Regions from separate parts of the Homo sapiens genome. Here regions 1 and 2 are each linked to region 3. The links are contacts of gene promoters, found by promoter capture Hi-C in human tissues and cell types (Jung and others, 2019). All regions are on one chromosome and are shown on one strand. Each heading gives the region's core, a stretch centred on a gene start or on the middle of the fragment in contact. The rest is flanking DNA. Distances are from core to core; before and after follow the strand shown. Region 1 has its middle 24 kb from the start of IGFL1. Region 2 has its middle 6.9 kb from the start of IGFL3. Region 3 holds the start of RSPH6A (radial spoke head 6 homolog A).

What was found. The method cuts DNA at HindIII sites, captures the fragments that hold promoters and counts their contacts. A contact is called where the count stands out against the background at its distance.
Region 1: a fragment that was not itself captured here is called in contact with the fragment with the promoter of RSPH6A in region 3 in 1 of the 25 tissues and cell types used here (aorta).
Region 2: a fragment that was not itself captured here is called in contact with the fragment with the promoter of RSPH6A in region 3 in 2 of the 25 tissues and cell types used here (dorsolateral prefrontal cortex and liver).

Annotation. Positions count from the first base shown.
Region 1 is chr19:46,251,490-46,256,126 of GRCh38, forward strand. No RefSeq gene overlaps it. Among named protein-coding and RNA genes, the nearest start is that of IGFL1, 24 kb to the left of the region's middle. The HindIII fragment of the contact is 4,943 bases long and covers 891-4,637 here.
Region 2 is chr19:46,129,207-46,133,886 of GRCh38, forward strand. It overlaps a transcript of IGFL2 not described here. Among named protein-coding and RNA genes, the nearest start is that of IGFL3, 6.9 kb to the left of the region's middle. RefSeq lists enhancers at 3,602-4,433, 4,434-4,680. The HindIII fragment of the contact is 6,419 bases long and covers 1-4,680 here.
Region 3 is chr19:45,812,778-45,817,353 of GRCh38, forward strand. RSPH6A (radial spoke head 6 homolog A) reads right to left here and starts at 2,531. Exons shown (of 6, transcript NM_030785.4): 1 at 1,750-2,531. The coding sequence starts at 2,399. It overlaps SYMPK (symplekin scaffold protein), which reads right to left. Exons shown (of 27, transcript NM_004819.3): 24 at 4,021-4,197; 25 at 3,705-3,800; 26 at 3,074-3,406; 27 at 2,633-2,920. The coding sequence ends at 2,783. RefSeq lists an enhancer at 4,205-4,274 and a silencer at 4,435-4,524. The HindIII fragment of the contact is 35,300 bases long and covers 1-4,576 here.

The DNA of each region.
Region 1 (4,637 bases), core at 2,112-4,611, 440 kb after region 3:
AATTCTCTATCAGTGAGGGAAGTTGGAAGCAGGGTGGGAAGGTTGGGAGAAAGAGAAACCCTGAAGGGAACTAAGTTACTGGGAGCAGGTGCTGGTAGGTGAGTCATGCTGTGGAAGCCTGTTTGCACTGTTTCAAGGAGTGACTCTTTGGTTGGATGAAAAAGGGACGCCGTGGGTGTAGGTAGAGAAGGTGCTGGAGGGGAAGGCAGGCCCAGGTAGCAAAGGGCCTTGTGGGACAAGCTGGGAGCCTGGGTTTCATCCTAGCGGTGGTGGGGAGTCGTTCAATAATTTTTTTGGTTTTTTCTTTTCTTTTCTTTTCTTTTTTTTTTTTTTGAGACAGAGTTTTGCTCTTGTTGCCCAGGCTGGAGTGCAATGGCGCCATCTCGGCTTATCACAACCTCTGCCTCCAAGGCTCAAGCAATTCTCCTGCGTCAGTCTCCCAAGTAGCCGGGATTACAGACATGCACCACCACACCCAGCTAATTTTTTTTAATTTTTATTTTTTGTATTTTTAGTAGAGATGGAGTTTCTCCATGTTGATCAGGCTGGTCTTGAACTCCCAACCTCAGGTGATCCACCCTCCTTCGGCCTCCCAAAGTGCTGGGATTACAGGTGTGAGCCACCGCGACTGGCCATCACTCAATAATTTTAAGCAGTGAAACTCATGACCAGATTTGCATTCTTCTAAAACCAGGCCCCACTCTGTGATCCTGGCGTGTCTTCCCAGACACCCGGGACTATCACAGTCACCACTGCAGCAGGGCAGCGTTTTCCAGCACACTATTATCACCTTGCTCATGTGTTTATTTACTTTGCAAAAATATTGGTTTGTTAGTGTCAGAGACAATTCCCCATGGATCTCTTGCTTTTTTGCTGGCCTGGCAGTGAGGCATTGACTGTCCTTTTGTTCCACACTCTTTTCAAGGATGTTTGTGTAGTGTACTGCCTTGGAAGACAGAGGTAAGGTTTCCCTTTAGAGCAAAGAATACTTGTTTACTGTCCTGTATAAAAATAATACTCTCTTCCTCCAGGTCATTTAGGCTCTGATAAAACCCTAATAATTTAGATTCTGGTAAAATGCTTTCTCTTAATGGCAGAGCTTGTTAAGAAGAACAGAATACTCTGGTGTGTTTCACAGCGGTTACTTTCCCCCTTCCCACTTCATGCCAGACCATGAAGGAGATTTTTCTCCCATATTCACTGTGAGAACCTGATAGGGTTCCTGGAGGTAAAACTCTTAGAAAAATGCAGAGGCTCCCCTTAGACTGGGCCCCCTGGAGTTTTTAATTCTCAGACTGCTCCGCCGTGAGCCTCCAGGAATTCATTCATTAGACTTCATGTTTTCCTGTCCTGGTACTGGTTCCCACAGGGGTTTCTGGTCATGGGTTTCTGTTGCAGTAGTTTTGATTCTCTGTATCCACCTGCCTGTCTCTCGAAATCTTAAGGGCAGTGGTTTGCTCTGTGATCCCACTCCTCTAATGGATGTAAGAATTGTTAATTTTCTCTTTGTTCAGTATTCACTTTCTGTTAAGATGCAGTGATGAGTTCCAAGCCTCTTACATGCTTGACTGGAAGCTGGGAGTCCCAGAGAACATTTCTTTAGAGATGAGGTATCACTATGTTGCCCAGGTTAGACTTGAACTCTCAGGCTCAAGTGATCCTCCCACATCAGCCTCCTGAGTATCTGGGATTATAGGCATCTGCCATAGCACCCAGCTCAAAAACCTACTTTTAATAATAATCATCCTTTGGAAGCTGAGACTTTCTTTATGACCCATCATATGATCAATTTAGCATAAATGTTTAACATAGACTTGAAAAAAATGTATGTTCTACCACTGATGAGAGAGAGATATTTATATATTTGCATATATAAAATTAGGCCAGGTGTGTTGGCTCACACCTGTAATCCCAGCACTTTGGGAGTCCGAGGTGGGCAGATCACCTGAGGTCAGGTGTTCAAGACCAGCCTGGCCAATATGGTGAAACCCAGTCTTTACTAAAAATACAAAAATTAGCTGGGTGTGGTGGTGGGCACCTGTAATCCCAGATGCTCGGGAGGCTGAGGCAGAAGAATCACTTGAACCTGGAAGGCAGAGGCTGCAGTGAGCTGAGACGGTGCCACTGCACTCCGGCCTGGGATATTGAGCGAGACTTCAACTTAAAAAAAAAAAAAATTTCTTGCATTTCTATACACTAACAATGAACAAGCCAAAAAGGAAATTAAGAAAACTACCTCATTTATAATACCATCAAAAAGAATAAAGTGCTTCAGGCCAGGCATGGTGGCTCACGCCTGTAATCCCAGCACTTTGGCAGGCTGAGGCAGGTGGATCACTTGAGGTCAGGAGTTCAAGACCAGCCTGGTCAACATGGTGAAACCCCGTCTCTACTAAAAATATGAAAATTAGCCGGGCATGGTGACGCTCGCCTGTAATCCTAGCTACTCCAGAGGCTGAGGCAAGAGAATTGCTTGAACCCAGGAGGGGGAGGTTACAGTGTGCCAAGATCATGCCACTGCACTCCAGCCTGGGCCACAGAGCAAGACTCTGTCTCAAAAAATAAAAATAAAAAAAGAATAAAATAATTCAGAATAAACTTAACCAAGAGAGCAAATGACTTGTATAGTGCAAACTACAAAACATTGTTGAAAAAAAGTAATGAAGACACAAATAAATGGAAAGACAGTCTGTGTTCATGGGTTGGAAGATTTAATATTGTAACAATGTCCATACTACCCAAAGTGATCTACAGCTTCAAAGCAATCTCTATCAAAATCTCAATGACAATTTTGCAGAAGCAGAAAAAATCCTAAAATTCGCATGGACTCTTAAGGGACCCTGAATAGACAAAATAATTTTGAAAAATAAAGAACAGGCCAGGCGCGGTGGCTCACGCCTGTAATCCCAACACTTTGGGAGGCCAAGGCAGGCGGATCACAAGGTCAGGAGATCGAGACCATCCTGGCTAACACAGCGAAACCCTGTCTTTACTAAAAAAAATACAAAAAATTAGCTGGGCATGGTGGTGGCCACATGTAGTCCCAGCTACTTGGGAGGCTGAGGCAGGAGAATGGTGTGAACCTGGAAGGCGGAGCTTGCAGTGAGCCGAGATCGCGCCACTGCACTCCAACCTGGGCAACAGAGCGAGACTCCATCTCAAAAAAAAAAAAAAAAAAATGAAGTTGGACCCTTATCTCTAACCATACACAAGAATTAGTTCAAAAAACTAATGAGATCCAAGGCCTAAATGCAAAAGTTAAAACTATAAAGCTCTTAGAAGAATACATAGGGAGAAAGCTTCCTGACATTGGACTTGGCAGATTTCTTGGATGTGACACCAAAAGTCCAGGCAAAATAGTAAACACCAATAAATTGAACTCCATCAAAGTCAGAAAGAAGAACAAACTTCAGGGCCATGTGTTGTGGGCATTTACCATGCCCTACAGGAATAGCCACAAACTTGATGATTCACTTTTAGGCAACAGATCTGGTTCCTTGGTTAACCAGTCCGGTTTCTTTAGCTTCCTTCCTTCCTGGAGGTTTTCCTATTCCGTTGTTAAGTGGGGCCAATGCCAAAAAGAAATTAGGGCAATCCCTGCTAGAGTATCTATCACCTTAATAGATTTCCTACTCCTACCAATTACTCAGGACGCAGATTCTTTGAGAAAGTTTCTCCTCCTTCCGAGACAAAATTTTACACATTAATATGTCTTATGCTACTTGCTGTTGCACATATCACTAATTGAAATGATACATTAATTTGCATAATTTGCTCATTTCTGTGCCTTCTTCTCTAGGCCGTGAGCTCCAGGGTGAAAGACTGAAGGCTCTTCCTCCAAGATCAGGAACAAGACAAAGAGACCTGCTTCTACCACTGCTATTTAACATTGTACTGGAGGTGCTAGCCAGAACCTTTAGAAAAAAAAAAAGAAAAGAAAAGAATTAAAAGCATCCAGAGAGAAAAGGAGGAGGAAGAAGAGGAGGAGGAGGTGAAACTGATGATAAAAACCCATCCAAGAATGTAAATGTGACATCTGCAGCAGGTTCAAATCTAAGCTATAAGACAAACGGAATCCTTCGTAAGGACTGTCATCTATTATGCACAGAGAGCCGAAATCCATTACTGAAATTCTCTTGGTGAGCCACCTGATGGGCCCAGTGACGTACTAGTACACACAGGAGTTGAAACAAAAAAAAGTCTGGCATATTCTTTGGATGACTGGCAGAGTGTGACACCAATATGGTACCCAGCCCTACTATCATTACAAGGACTTCATGACCAAAAAAATAATAGAGAATTGTTTTGGTGGTTAAAACAATTAAAAGCATCCAAATTGGAAAGGAAGAGGTAAAAGCATCTCTATTCACAGAAACATAATCTTATTTATAGAAAACACTAAACCTTCCACACACACACACCCCAAATAAAACACCTGTTAGAATTAACAAACAAGGCCGGGCGCAGTGGCTCACGCCTGTAATCCCAGCACTTTGAGAGGTCGAGGTGAGTGAATCACCTGAGGTCAGGAGTTCAAGACCAGTCTGGCCAACATGGCAAAACCCCGTCTCTACTATATACAAAAAATTAGCGGGGTGTGGTGGTACGCACCTGTAATCAAAGCTACTCAGGAGATG
Region 2 (4,680 bases), core at 679-3,178, 320 kb after region 3:
GTATTTATTCGGATCTTCCCTCTTCTTTTTTAATCTAGCTAGTGTTCTATCTATTTTATTAATTTTTTTCAAAAAACCAACTCTTGGATTTGTTGATCTTTTGTGTGTGTGTGTGTGTGTGTGTGTGTGTGTGTGTGTGTGTGTGTCTCTGTCTCCTTCAGTTCAGTTTTGATTTTGATTATTTCTTGTCTTCTGCCGGCTTTGGGGTTTGTTTGCTCTGGGTTCTCTAGTTCTTTTAGTTGTGATGTTAGGTTGTGAAGCTGAGTTCTGACTCTCTGAAGTGGGCAATTAGTACTATAAATTTCCCTCTTACTCCTGCCTTAGCTGTGTTCCAGAGATTCTGGTATATTGTATCTTTGTTCTCATTGGTTTCAAATAGCTTCTTGATTTCTGCCTCAATTTCATTATTTACCCCAAAGTCATTCAGGGGCAGGTTATTCAATTTCCATGTAATTGTATGGTTTTGAGCAAATTCCTTAGTCTTGATTTCTAATTTGATTGTGCTATGGTCTGAGAGAGTGGTTGTTATGATTTCGGTTCTTTTGTGTTTGCTGAGGAGTGTTTCGTGTCTGATTATGTGGTCGATTTTTCAATGTGTGCCATGTGGTGGTGAGAAGAATGTATATTCTATTGCTTTTGTGTGGAGAGTTCTGCAGATGTCTATCAGGCCCATTTGATCCAGTGCTGAGTTCAGGTCCTGAATATCTTTGTTAATTTTCTGACCTGATGATCTGTCTAATACTGTCAGTGAGGTATTGAAGTTTCCCACTATTATTGTATGGATGTCTAGATCTCTTTGAAGGTCTCAAAGAGCTTGCTCTCTGAATCTGGGTGCTCTTGTGTTGGGTGCATATGTATTTAGGATAGTTAGGCCTTCTTGTTGAATTGAACCCTTTACTATTACATAATACCCTTCTTTGTCTTTTTTTATCTTTGTTGGTTTAAAGTCATCTGAGATTAGGATTGCAACTCCTGCTTTTTTCTGTTTTCCATTTGCTTGGTAGATTTTCCTCCATCCCTTTATTTTGAGCCTGTGGGTGTAATTGCATGTGAGATGGACTGCATGCAGTTTCAAGGGTTCAGGTTCACTGTTTATTTAAACCAAATACTACAGGGTATGATCTCCTGAACTAAGTGGGTGAAGTACACGTTTCCTATGAAACAGCCTTTTTCATTATCTCACAGGGCAATAACTTCTTTAGAGTTTTGATAAATATTTTAGTTCCCCCAGCAAGCATCAGATGATGAGTTAAAGAACATACCATGTTATTTAAAATATGGCATTTGTTTGTCTACATGCTGTTTATTGAGGTTCTTGGAAGCACCTTTTCATTATGTTTATAAACTGGTTACTTGCAAGTGGTTGCTTGCCAGTTTAAACTAGCTTAAGCTGTGGCAAAAAGAGGAATTTATTATCTTTGGTAGGTTCCAAATTAAAAAATAAAGTGAGCAAGAACTAAGATTAGAAGAAATTTATGAGCTTGGATGAAGGTTCCCAGTATTTCTCATTATTTTTATGTTTAATGATGTATAGTTCCTTTTCTGTAAATGATACACTATTCAGAATAATTGTTTTGGGTTGTTTGCTTCCTTCTTATTAATTTATAAATGCTCTTTTTATATGGGAGATACTAACCTTTTGTCTGTTATATGTTTTCCTCGCCTTTGTGTTTGTTTCTCAGTAATGCTGGTGGAGTCTTCTTTTTTGAGATATTTTAAATTTTTATGCAGCAGTGTCTTTTACCACTGCCCTACATCTTCTTTCCACTTTTTGGCTTCCGCTTACGTAAGGAGGCCATCTCCAACTTAAAGTTCTATGAATAGTTCTATATTTTTACTTTCTTTTTAGTCATTTTTATTCACATATAACTTTTTCTATAAGATGTGATGCTGAGTCTAAGTTAATTTTCTTGCTAATGAATGTCCTATTGAATCTGAAATTACTTGTTGACTAGTTTCATCCCTTTTCTTCTAATGTACAATGTTACTTTTCTTATATCTCAGTTTTCCATTATTAGCTTTATCTGTTGATGGACTCTGTTCAATTGATTTATGTGTAATTTTTCTAGGTAGTGTCTGGTTCATTTACAGTAGCTTTGTTTTAAATTTTAATAATAGACAAAAACTTCTCTCCTTATTACACTACATTAAGCTTTACTCGACAATATTTGTGCAGTCAGCTTTAAGAGCTCCCAAGTAATTTTCTAAACCCTCCTCCTAAAAAATAGCAAAATTTAAAAATGGGAATTCAGATGAAATTTTTTTGTAAACATTGTTTGGCTTTGGAAAGCATGAGCATTCTAATGTTTTAATACTTTCTGTCTCAGAGGTTTATCGACTTCTTTTTTTATTAGGTCTAGTTTGCTGTCAACACCCATTTAATTTTACGTAAACATGCTCTTCGAGGCTGAAGCGAATATGACTGATTTTCAGTGTGAAAATAAAACATAAAAACCCCTTCTTGGCTCATGCCTGTAATCGCAGCACTTTGGGTGGCTGAAGCAGGCAGATCACTTGAGGCCAGGAGTTTAAGACCAGCCTGGCTAATATGGTGAAACCCTGTCTCTACTAAAAATACAAAAGTTAGCCGGGCATGGTGGCCTATGCTTGTAGTCTCAGCTACTCGGGAGGCTGAAGTGGGAGAGTCGCTTGAACCCAGGAGGTGGAGGTTGCAGTGAGCCAATATTATGCTACTGCACTCCAGCCTGGGGAGCAGAGCGAGACTCCCTCTCAAACAACAACAACAAAAACAAAACTGTTCTTGGAGTTGTTTCTAAACAGAACTTGTCTCTAGTATTAACGTAGCAGAAATGTATATGATTTTACATTAGTATTAAAGATAAGAATATTCTTGGCCAACAGGAAATGGGTTAAAGCCTTGCAGAGGAGGGAAACAGTGAATTTTGTCATTCACTTAACCAGTTTTCACACACACACAGAGAAAGTCCAGAAGCCTGGCTGGTAAGAAATTCTTACCCTTTTGCTGGCATGCTACGGTTTTGGGTTCTCTTTTTCTGAGCAACTTTGGTGACCTTGCTCCCTGTGGCATAGCTGTGGGGGCCAAGCCACGTTACAAAAGAAAATGATCCCTTTCCATTTCATGGAACCATAGGCAAAAGTCTCTCCTTTTTACAAGAGGCCAACCAGTGGGTTGCATGGGAAAATAAGATATTGAATTAAATGCACAGAAAGAAAACAATTCATTGGGACATAAGTGACACAAACTTTGGTTCCACGTGCTGTCAGTTCTCTCCTTAAAAAGCCAGCACCCAAAGTTGATAGACTCACACACCCAAACAGACAGATGACAGAAAAGTCCACAGGCTTCCCCTCCTCACATGGTGTGGCAAAGAGAAAGTGAAGTGGTGAGGGGTTTTGAATAGAGTTACAGGATTGAGGGCCAGTATGACAGAGAAGGGGAGAGAGAAGGAGAGGAAGAGGGAGGGAAAACGATAGAGGGAGAGAGGGAGGGAGAGGGAGAGGAAAGAAGAAGAAAGGGAAGGAGGGAGAAAGGGAGGGAGAGGGAGAGGAAAGAAGAAGAAAGGGAAGGAGGGAGAAAGGGAGGGAGGGATGGATAGAATTGTTTCTTGGGACTGGAACCCAAACCAACTTAGGCCAGGGAAAAGGTACACTCTGTCCCACTGCCTGCTGAGTTGATCAGATCCAGGTAGTCAACGATTTCAACCTGTCCCTCACAGATATCTGTTCACGTGACCCAAACCACTAAGGATTAGGAGAGGAGAGACAAGGCACCCTAAGTGACAGAAAAGTTAGGAAGTGAAAAGGAGAGAAAGCAAGAAGGGAAGGGAGAAAAGCATTGCCTGCAGGAGGGATGGGGGAGGCAAGGAGGGCTGGCAGGCTGGAGAAAGACTCAACCAGCTTGGCGACACTGAATCAGAAGTTCAGGCAGCTGCTTGTCAGCCGTGAAGGGATCTTGTCCAGCAGTCCCATCAGCTCACAAGTCTCCCCCTCAGGGAGAGAAAGGCTCCCCACATCCCATTGTTGGGAATGGGTGCTCGGTGTCACAAAAATCAACACTGAGACAAAGGATCTCTCAGCAAGGCTAGTTTACTTTCTGCAGAAAGAGGGCCGCTTGCTAGCAGTCTTGCCATGAGAGCACACACGAACAAAGGAGACAGGGTCATTTATAACCTGATATGCCACCCTACTGCTGTGTCTGGCTTCCGTTGGCTGGAATGGGACCTCACATTCTGTACTTGACCTGATTGGCTAGCAACTTAGAACTTCCCCAAAGAGGCAAAGGCAGAGGAGAACAAAGGAAGACAGGAAGTAACTTGTGGAATGCTGAGAGAGGCAAAAGCACTTCCAAATAAGGAAGAGGAATAGGCTATGACCTAATGCTTGCTTGGGCCTGTTCAGGCATGCCAGGGCAAATATCTAGGCTAAAATGCGGTAGCTAAGAACGCAGAGTATATTGATTTCTTTATTATGGCTAGCAGATATTTAAGAATATTAGCACAGGTCTTTGAGTAAATTTTGCTTCTAAGAGAGGTTACTATCTATTCTCAATTAGACTGGGAGGAAAGTCCCTCTGAAGAGGAACCTCTACTTATTTTATTTTCTACACCATGATCCCAGGCAAGCCCCTAAATAATACATTACTGGTCTTGGGTTCTTGGGCTCTCAATGCAATAGAAACTGACATGAGGTCAAAATAGT
Region 3 (4,576 bases), core at 1,281-3,780:
CTCTGCCTCCCGGTTCAAGTGATTCTCCTGCCTCAGCCTCCCGAGTAGCTGAGATCACAGGCGTGTGCCACCACGCCTGGCTAACTTTTTGTATTTTTAGTAGAGACAGGGTTTTGCCATGTTGGCCAGGCTGGTCTTGAACTCCTGACTTCGAGTTATCTGTCTGCCTCAGCCTCCCAAAGTGCTGGGATCACAGGCATGAGCAAGGCCTTATATGTCTCAGGCCAGGAGCCTTGAAGGTTGTGGTGAGGAGTCTGAGCTTCCCCCTGTGGGCAATGGGGAGCCATAGCAGGTTCTGAGCATTGGAGGGACACGGCCAGCTTTGTGCTTTAATAAGAACCATTACTTCATCAACCTCATTTCTCCCGCTCTCCCTCTTCCTCCCTTGGTTCCAGACACACCAGCCCCTCCTTACTGCTCCTCAAAAACAGCAAGCCTCAGAGCCTTTGCATTTGCAGTGTGCTCTGCCTGGCTCACTCTTCCTCCGGTCATCTGCAAGATGCTCTCCCTCGACTCCTTCAGGGCCCTAATCAAATGTCACCTCCTTGGACAGGCCTTCACTGACCCACACAATTTATTTTTTTGAGATGGAGTCTCGCTCTGTTGCCCAGGCTGGAGTGCAGTGGCACGATCTCGGCTCACTGCAACCTCTGCCGCCCGGGTTCAAGTGATTCTCCTGCCTCAACCTCCCGAGGAGCTGGGATTACAGGCCCATGCTACCATGCCCTGATAATTTTTGTATTTTTTAGTAGAGACAGGGTTTCGCCATGTTGGCAAGGCTGGTCTCGAACTCCTGACCTCAGGTGATCCGCCCGTCTTGGCCTCCTCAAGTGCTGGGATAACAGGCGTGAGCCACCGCACCTGGTTGGACCCCCACTATTTCATGTGTTCCCTAGCCCTCTTAGCCTCCCTTATTTTTCACCTGAGTCCTTAGCTTCAGTTTATCACTTTTTCTGTTTCTTGTCCACTCTCCTAGAATGAGAGCATCCTGGGTATCTAATGGAGGCTGAGAGCAGTGTTTTGTGACTGTAGCTAAGTGGCTTTGGCAAGTATCTTCCTCAGGCAGGGAGGTTTAGTTGCAGGATAAGAGGGTCTCAGGAGGGCTGGGCACGGTGGTTCATGCCTGCAATCCTAGCACTTTGGGAGGCTGAGATGGGCGGATCACTTGAGGTCGAGTTTGAGACTAGCCTGGGCAACATGGTGAAATCTTGCCTCTACTAAAAATACAAAAATTAGCTGGGTGAAGTGGAGCGCGCCTGTAACCCCAACTACTCGGGAGGCTGAAGCAGAAGAATCACTTGAACTTGGGAAGGAGAGGTTGCCCTAAGCCAAGACCACGCCACTGTGCTCCAGCCTGGGTGACAGGGTGAGACTATGTCTGGGGGAAAAAAAAAGCAAGAGGGCTTGGGGAGCCAAATCACGTGTTCTGGAATCCTGACTCTGCCATATCCTAGCTGTGTAGTTTTGGGTAAGCGACCCAACTTCTCTGTGTCTCGGTCTCCTCCTCTGTAAAGTAGGATGAGCTGATGTGCTCATCTCCGGTGAGAATTAGGTGAGTGTGTGCAGTGCCAGCACATGTCTGGGAAGTGAATGCTAGCTGTTGTTGGCATTGATTCCGACTCAGCTGAATTAGAGTCACTGGTTTTCCATGAGGGATGATCCCTTGTCTGACTGACTGAGGCAGGCACTTCGGGTGGGGCCCCTCCCTGCCTGGGTCCCCCACCCGCCCCACTCCTAGCCCCTGCTCACAGGCTGAGGTCGCAATTGATGCTGGTCTGCAGCAGGTAGGCCTTGGCGTTCTGCACGGCCAGCTCCAGAGGCTCGGGCTCAGGCACCTGGGCACTGTAGTGTGGGAAGCCCAGCTCAGAGGGCAAGAACTGAAGGGCAGGGTCATCCCTTATGTAAGGCCCGTGCTGGGCACCTTCAGAGAACTGGTCTGTCTGGTAGAGGTTGAACTGGCCCAAGGGGTTGACTGGGGGCTCCTGGAAGGTGGGGTCCAGTTGCTGGAACAGGCTGCTTTGGCCCTGCTGGAGCCGCTGCAGCATTAGGCTGGTGGTGAGCTCGGCGACCTGCATCCTGCTTTCATCAGAGTAAGGCTGAGGCTGGAACTCTGAGGGAAAGCCCGTGTTCACAGATGGGTACTCCATGCCACCCAGCCGGGCTTCCTCAGCCTGGAAGACCTGGGGCATCAGCAAGTTCTCCTGTTGGGACAGGCTGCCCCTCTGTGACCAACCAGGGGCGTTTCGCTGGGCGTCTGGAGGTATCTGCTGCCTCTCCTCGGGGTCCGCTGCCAGGGCCTGAGCTTGGTCCCGACTGTGCCGCCTCTGGGAGGCCTGAGAAGTCCTCCGGCCCGGAGGCTGCTGGGCAGGGCGCTCAGGGTAGGGCGGCAGGTCTCCCATGGTTCGCCAGGAGGCACAGATCTCTAGGAGAAAGGCTTGCAGACAAGGAGGCCAAGCGAGAGCCACCTGTCGACACCGCCGGTTTCTGAGCACCGAGAGAGGGGGCCGTTACCCGTGGAGGGCGCGGGGAGCGGGCCAGGGTGGGTTCCGCGCAGGCTCTGGGCGCGCACTCCCGATCCCGCGCAGCCCCACGGTGGACGTCGCGCCAGACTCGAGACGGCACCCGCGCCCCAGGCCCGCCATCCCTTTTTTTTTTTCTTTTCAGTAACTTGCCCAAGTTCACATCTTTTATTTCTTTTTAAGGCAAAGCACCCGCAGGTCAAGCCCCGCCCCGTCCCCCAGCCCCGAGTCCCTGTCCCACCCCCTTTCCCCCTCGAGCCCCGTCAGCTGTTCCCCTTGGCCTCGGGTTCCCTGGCGTCCTCGGCAGCCGGGCTGGGAGTCTTCATAGCATCTTCTCCAACAGGTGCGAGGGTCTGGGGGCTCCGCTCCTCCTTCAAGGTCAGCCCGCCCGCTGCCGTCTCCTGGTGACCGGGGAAGGAAAGGGCAGCCGGGTGGAGGGCGCGGTCACCTCCACGCTCCCCTTCAGGCCCTGCCCCCTGATGGCCCCTCCTCCCCCACCTTCACCCCGGCCCAGATCCGGCTTCTTCCTTCGCAGCGGAGGCTGCTCTCCCTACCTTGGGTAGGGGGCCCTCGAGACTAGAGTCCAACAGCGCGGCCTCGGTCAGCCCCGAGTCGTCATCCATGCTGATGAAGATGCCCGGGGTCTCGCACTCAGGCCCCTCCTCCCGGAAATCCATGGCTTCCTCAGACGGGGGCGGGCCTGGCCGGGCCGACGGAGAGGGAGAGGGGGAGGAAGAGGAGGGGGCTCCCACTCCTCCCGGCTTCAGCTTCTGTTCCTCCTCCAGCTGCCGCTTTAAGGCCTTCTCCTGGGCCAGTCGCAGGCCGATGAGGTCCTGAGGGGGCCGGGGTGCTGGGGCCGGGGCCAAGGTCAGGGGCTCCAGATCATCCTGGGGATAGGGAGGGCCACACAGAAGCTCAGAGGTGGGTGGCTCAGAGGACGGCCGGAAAGAGAAGGAACCACCCTGAGGTGGTCTTTGAGTTCTTCACCAAGAGCATGGGGAGGAAGGGGCAGTTGTCCCCCAGACCCCCAACTCCCAGCAGGAGCATCCCCTGGGAGACGGGTGGCCCAGAGGCAGGGGTGGCCTGAGTCTCTCGGGGTCAGGAGGAGGCCATGGTGAGCCTTGCTGGCTTGGGGTAGGGGGTGGGAGTCTGGGGATCCAGATGGGTGGGCTGCAGGGCCCTCACCTCCTCCAAGGGCCCCGCAGGCGCCTCCTTGGCCTCTGGCTCCTGCTTGCCGCTGGCCTCCAAGATGGTCATGATGGAGTTAGGGATGTGAGCTTGCTGGGTGGAGAGCAGGAAGGGGGCGCTGGGGGCAGCTCTGGCACAGAGACCCCATTTGCACACCTCAGGTCCGGGGGCCCTAACCCTCCAGAACTCCCAGCAGTGCAGGGCCTTCTTGTGTCCGCCTCCATCCAGTCCCCACCAACCAGAGGGACCCAGGGGGCCGCCCACCGCACACCCTGGGTGGGGGGAAAGGGTACCTGGTGGGGGGAAGGGGTACCTGGTGGGGGGTGAAGGAGCGGACATGGGCCAGCAGGGGCTCCCGGAGCTCTGGGCACTTGTCAAAGACGGCTCCCAGCTGCTGGGGCGGCAGCTGCAGGATGACCTGGAAGCTCTGGGGCTTTGTGCGCTGGCAGCACTTGATGAAGCCCTCCCACACCTTGGGGTACTTCCACACCTGAACCAGGGAGGGAGGGAGCCGTCGGGAGAGGCACACAGGCATCCCCCCGAGCCTTGACACTGGGAGAAAGACCTTGCCAAGACCATGCCCAAATCCCACCATCCAAGATTCCTCTGGATGGGCAACAAGCAGCCCCGACCTCCCTCCAGAGGCCTTTGTCTTCCCGATCCAGGCGGCTGGACCACGAGGGCAACTTGGGAAGGGGGTGGAAGAAAACTCAGCCGCCTTTTACCAGAGCTCCCCCTGGGCCAGGCCCAGGCTAAGTGCTGCGGGAGCACCTCTCATGACATTCTCACGGCAGCCTCCAGGGGGCGAAATTACCCCTGCTAAACAGCGGAGGTCCGTGCCGGTGCCGGGACCTGTCCTGGGTCACATG